Linked DNA regions of Homo sapiens: region 2 is linked to region 1. The links are contacts of gene promoters, found by promoter capture Hi-C in blood cells and fetal thymus (Javierre and others, 2016). All regions are on one chromosome and are shown on one strand. The core of a region is centred on a gene start or on the middle of the fragment in contact, and the rest is flanking DNA. Distances in the headings are between cores, read along the strand shown. Region 1 holds the start of MRGPRD (MAS related GPR family member D). Region 2 has its middle 14 kb from the start of LTO1.

Region 1 (2,700 bases), core at 12-2,511:
TAACCAGCTTAAAGCAGGGTAGGGCTAAAAGCTAATATTTTCCCCCAACCAGATAATCTGCTATAAACAAATAAATTGCATCTTCCAGCGGGGTTGCATTGTGAGATCCAGGACACAGGTGTTGTGGGGAGTTTTGACATGCAGGGAAGTGACCCCCACATGCAGCTGCAAAGTCCTTGGGGCTCCCCCAAGAAGGCGGGCCAGACACTTGGCAGGGACGAGGTGGGAGGCAGCTCACGGCTCGGGAATCTCCAGGGCATGGGCTCGCACAGGTGGGAAGCACCTGTGGGCGGCTCTCAAGCCCCCATCTCATTGGTGCCCACGGTGGGCGTCTCCCCACCTTCCAGCTCGGGCTCCTCGCGAAGCGCCTGTTGGAGCACAGTCCCCAGGGACCTGGTGGGCAGCCTGTGGCTCCTCCGGCTGCCCACCAGGAAGTAGATGACGGGGTTGGCGCTGCTGCTTACGGACGAGGAGAGGCGTGACAAGCTGAAGCACAGGACCTGCATCTCGGGCGGCAGGCTCAACCAGTAGAGCACAAACCAGTAGATGCTCAGAGGCAGGGAACAGATGAGGAACACCAGGACAGAGGCCAGGACCACCACGAACAGCCGTGTGGGCTGCCGCCGCCACTGCTGGGAGCTCCTCCGCACCCAGACAAAGAGGGTCAGGCTGGACAGAGTCATCACTGGGGTTAAGACCCCCATGATGAGGGCGGCCTGGACCATGTCCACCCTGAAGCACCGATCTTCATTGAATTTCAAGAACTTGCTGCAGAAGGAAGAGGTCAACCCGTTCATCAGGAGACAGAGTGTCCACAGCAGGCCACACACCCAGGCTGACAGGTGCCTGGGCCGGTGACACTTGAACCAGATAGGGAAGAGGACAGAGAGACAGCGCTGGGTGCTGATGGCCGTCAGCAGGCTCAGGCCCACTGTGTAGGCAAAGTACATCAGTCTCTTCATCAGCTCGTGGACCTTGTCAGTGGTATTGACCAGGGGCTGGGTTTCCAGGCTGAGCGTGGAAGCCATGCTGAAGAGGAAGAGGAGGTCGGCTGCCGCCAGGTTGAGGATATAGATGCAGAAGGGGTTCCTGTGCATTCGAAAGCCCAGCAGCCAGATCACCATGCTGTTGCCTGCCATCCCGCACAGGCAGGTGAACATGGCCAGGGAGCTCAGCACCAGGTAGGCCGTGTGCACTGTGCTCCCTCTGGAATAGTTTAGGGCTGACTCCACGGTCCCACTGCTATTCAAAGTCTGGTTCATCCCTACGAGAGGAAGATGTACCAATGTGAAATTCTGTGTTGCTGGGACCACGGGGGACCCCTGGGTGCCCCTCGAATTTCCAGCTTCAGAGCTCTCCCCTCCAGGTTCTTTATGTAACAGACCATGACCGGGAGGCTTAACCTTCCCCCACTCCTGTGACTCACTCAGCCCAGATCTGCCTCCAGGGTCACCTTTATAGCTACAAAGCTGTTATAAATACCCTTTATCAGGTTAAAAAATTCTCTTCTATCTTGCTTTGAATTATTTTTTAAATCATGGAGAGGTATTGAATTTTATCAAATGCTTTTTCTACATCTATTATAGAAAAATCATTATTATCAATAGATGTAGAAAAACTATTTGATAGAAACATTTGAAATCATTTTTTTTTTCTCCTGTAATTGTCAAACCCTGTGAGTTAATTAAAAAAACAATAGACCTTAGGGCTGGGCGTGGTGGTGCATGCCTGTAACCCCAGCACTTTGGGGTTTGCTTGAGGCCAGGAGTTTGAGACCAGCCTGGGCCACATAGCAAGATCTCATCTCTACAATTTTTTTTTTTAATTAGCCAGGCATGGTGGCACACACCTGTGGTCCCACCTACTTGAGAGGCCAAGGCGGGAGGATCGCTTGAGCCTGGCACATTGAGGTTGTAGTGAGCCATGGTCCCGCCACTGCACCCCAGCCTGGAAGACAGAGCGAGATGCTGTCTCTTAAAAAAAAAAAAAAATTAGACCTCAGGGCAAAGTGTAGAATTAACTACACTCCTTAGTTTAAGACACACCATGAGCATCAGCCCATTAAAAACCCTCCATTTATTCAAGTTTCCTTCCCCATCCCATCTTAGCTGCCTTTTTCCTCCTGCCGCTTGCATCCATCCAACCTGTTTCACGCAAATCCTTGGACACCTCAATATCTTTCAAGATGGAGTGGTTGCCCATTGTGTTTTAAATTTACGTAAATGTTGTGATTTAGAATTAATGATGGGTTTTTTATTTTTCACTTGACAATATGTTTGTAGGATATATCCAGGTGGCTGTATGCAAAAGTTGTGGTTTAAAATGTCATCATGCACATTGATCTGTTATCCATTCCTTACTGTGGATCCTCAGCTTGCTTCAAAATTCCCATTATCACCAAAACACTGTGTTGGACATCCTCATGCATGTACCCATTGGACTTGACTCAATATTTTTCTGGGATACATTCTTGGAGGAGGATTGCTCGGTCATAGAACATATGCACATTTAGTCTCACTAAATATTGCCTGGTAATTCTTTTTCTGAGTGGCTGCTTCAGGTTTCACCTGTACCAGCAGAATAGGAATGTTTACGTTTTCCCATTCTCTCACCAACACTTGGTGTTATTTGTTTTTCTAACTTTTGCCAACCTGATGGTTGCAAAGTGATATACTGTAGATGTTTTAACTTGCATTTCTG
Region 2 (2,725 bases), core at 93-2,592, 680 kb after region 1:
CAACGACCAGCACAGAACGGGGGCTCCATAAATCTCTGTCAATAACTGAATTCTTTCTGGGGTGCTGAGGATTCTATGGCTCAATGTGTGTGAAGCACTGCTGAGCACCGAGCTTGGGGTGCAGTGATCACTCAGGGAACGCCATCATCCCCTCGGCGCATCCGCATAATCACCATCAGCATTCCATGCACTGCCCAGGTCTGGAAGCACAGGCCTCCATGCCACGGCGGCCGCCTGGGTGGTGGCACCAAAGCCGATCTTACTTCCCTCCTTTGGCACATTAAGTAGACAGTTCTGGGTCTTCTTGACACCACGGATGCCCCCTCCTGGTGTTGACAGCACCCAGACTTTGCTCCAGGGAACCACCATTCCCAGATCTGTGGTTTGAGTGGGACCGAACCCATCCCCAGCTCCAGGCCAGGTCTTCATAGGCTGAAACCCAACTGCACATCCACACCCACCAGAAGAGCAGCAAGTTAATGGATGGGTGAGAAATCAAATAGAGCCATTGAGTCTTGAGGAGACATTTTCTGGAGCTTCTGAAAAAGATAATGCTTCCCCCTTCCTTAGGATTCCCAGCAGGGAAACACAAGCCCAGGGGTGGCACTGCCCCCCTGCAGCCCTAAGGGAAGACTGAGCTGCTCCCAGGACCTCACAGGGGAGGCTGAGCGTAAGGCCAGCCCTGAGGGAAAGCAGGGAATGGGTCTCCAGACAAACTGCTGGATCAAGCCTCTCCTGAAGTCATCCCCCTTTTGTTCCAGAAGCCAATCATTGTCCTTCATTAAGTCAGTTTGATATGGGCACTGTGTCATTTGGTTTTCAAAGACACTTAACTATTACAGCTTGTGTGTGTTTTCTTTTTTTTTTTTTGAGACGGAGTCTCACTCTCGCCCAGGCTGGAGTGCAGTGGCCTGCTCTCGGCTCACTGCAAGCTCTGCCTCCCGGATTCACGCCATTCTCCTGCCTCAGCCTCTCGAGTAGCTGGGACTACAGGCGCCCGCTACCACGCCCAGCTAATTATTTGTATTTTAGTAGAGACCGGGTTTCACCGTGTTAGCCAGGATGGTCTCGATCTCCTGACCTCGTGATCCACCCGCCTCGGCGTCCCAAAGTGCTAGGATTACAGGCGTGAGCCACCGCACCCGGCCGCTTGTGTGTGTTTTCTACCTCTTCTAGATCTAACATGTTATGATTGATATAAACAACAGGAGCGACTGACAAAGTTACCATGTGATCTTGGAATTTCAACATGCCTGTCTTGCTTAGCTGGGAGTTCCACAGGGTCAGGGAATGACTCCTCTTGGGGCCACCAGTGCCCAGAAGTATGCCTAGAACTGCTCTGTCTGAAGGGACAGGTCCCTCTTCCATGGCACACACTCTGTGTGTAACAGAGCACACGTGTGACCAAACTGACCTGGAGAAAGGGCCTGACCACATCCATATCCCAAGTTCTGAGGCCGGATAGTGCCTGCAGGGGCTGAGACCAGGGGAGAGGCTCAAGCCAGCCTTCTCTGGTGGACCCTGACTCAGTCCTCTGTGCAGGGCAGCTGCGCCTCCCAGAAGGCAGAGGCCTCTTGGAGAGTGAGCCTTGCGGTCACAGCGCCTTTCGGGGGCTCCCGCCACTTGCCCTCAGTGGCGGCTGAGACCTGGGGGAGTCCAGGCAAATCCCTGAGGAGGCCCCACATGCAAGGCCAGAAGTGTCTGGATGGTGTGGCCGGCACCCTTACCCTCCAGACCAGCAAACGAAGCCCAGGCAGGGAGAGGGGCCTTGTAGTTTTCTGTGGCTGCTGTAATGAATTTTCACACACTCAGCAGCTTAAAACAACCAACATTTCTCTCATAGTTCCAGAGGCCAGCAGTGTCTGCAGTGCCCGCTCTCTCCCAGCTTCTGGTGGTTTCGGGCGACCTTCGGCTCTTCTCAGCTGGTCCATGCGCAGCTCCAAACTCGGCCTCTGTCCTCACAGGGCTATCGGCCCCATGTCTTCACGTGGCAGTCTCTCCTCTGTGCCACTGGCTCCCGTCCCCTTAAAAGGACACCAGTCATATTGGACGAAGGGGCCACCCTACTCTAGTATGACCTCACCTTAACTTACATCTTTTTTTTTGGGGGGGGACAAAGTCTTGCTCTGTTGCCTGAGCTGGAGTGCAGTGACGTGATCTCAGCTCACTGCAACCTCCGCCTCCCGGGTTTAAGTGATTCTCTTGCCTCACTCAGCCTCCCGAGTAACTGGGAAATACAGGCACCACCATCATGCCTGGCTAATTTTTAAATTATTATTCTTTTTAGTAGAGAGAGGGTTTCACTGTGTTGGCCAGGCTGGTCTCCAACTCCTGACTTCGTGATCCACCTACCTTAGCCTCCCAAAGTGCTGGGATTACAGGCGTGAGCCACTTCGCCTGGCCCAATTTACATCTTAAAAAAATCTACAAAGACCCTATTTCCTATTTCCAAGTAAAGTCACAGAAGCTAAAGTACCAGAAGCTAGGACTTCAACGTTTCCTTTTGCGGATACAATTCAATTTGCAACAGACTTGGGCTCTCAAAGCCTGGAAGCAGCCTCCACAGTCCCCTCGAATTTCAGGGGCACATACTCACTGGAACCAGCAGAGGGACATCAATCCATGAGCCTCTAGCTCAGCAAGCATCACATACTCTACATGTTCAGGTATCGCCTGAGATAAAGGCTTCCATCCCTGCAACCCAAGCCCAGCTGCTCTGGTAAAG

The links. Contacts are between HindIII fragments. The CHiCAGO score rates a contact against its expected background, and 5 or more counts as called.
Region 2: a fragment that was not itself captured here is called in contact with the fragment with the promoter of MRGPRD in region 1 in 1 of 17 cell types (total B cells); the score reaches 5.1 in total B cells.

What each region holds. Positions count from the first base shown.
Region 1 is chr11:68,979,725-68,982,424 of GRCh38, forward strand. MRGPRD (MAS related GPR family member D) reads right to left here and starts at 1,262. Exons shown (of 1, transcript NM_198923.2): 1 at 297-1,262. The coding sequence starts at 1,262. The coding sequence ends at 297. RefSeq lists an enhancer at 242-751. The HindIII fragment of the contact is 14,944 bases long and covers 1-2,700 here.
Region 2 is chr11:69,659,579-69,662,303 of GRCh38, forward strand. No RefSeq gene overlaps it. Among named protein-coding and RNA genes, the nearest start is that of LTO1, 14 kb to the right of the region's middle. RefSeq lists enhancers at 1,276-1,776, 1,777-2,277. The HindIII fragment of the contact is 3,510 bases long and covers 1-2,725 here.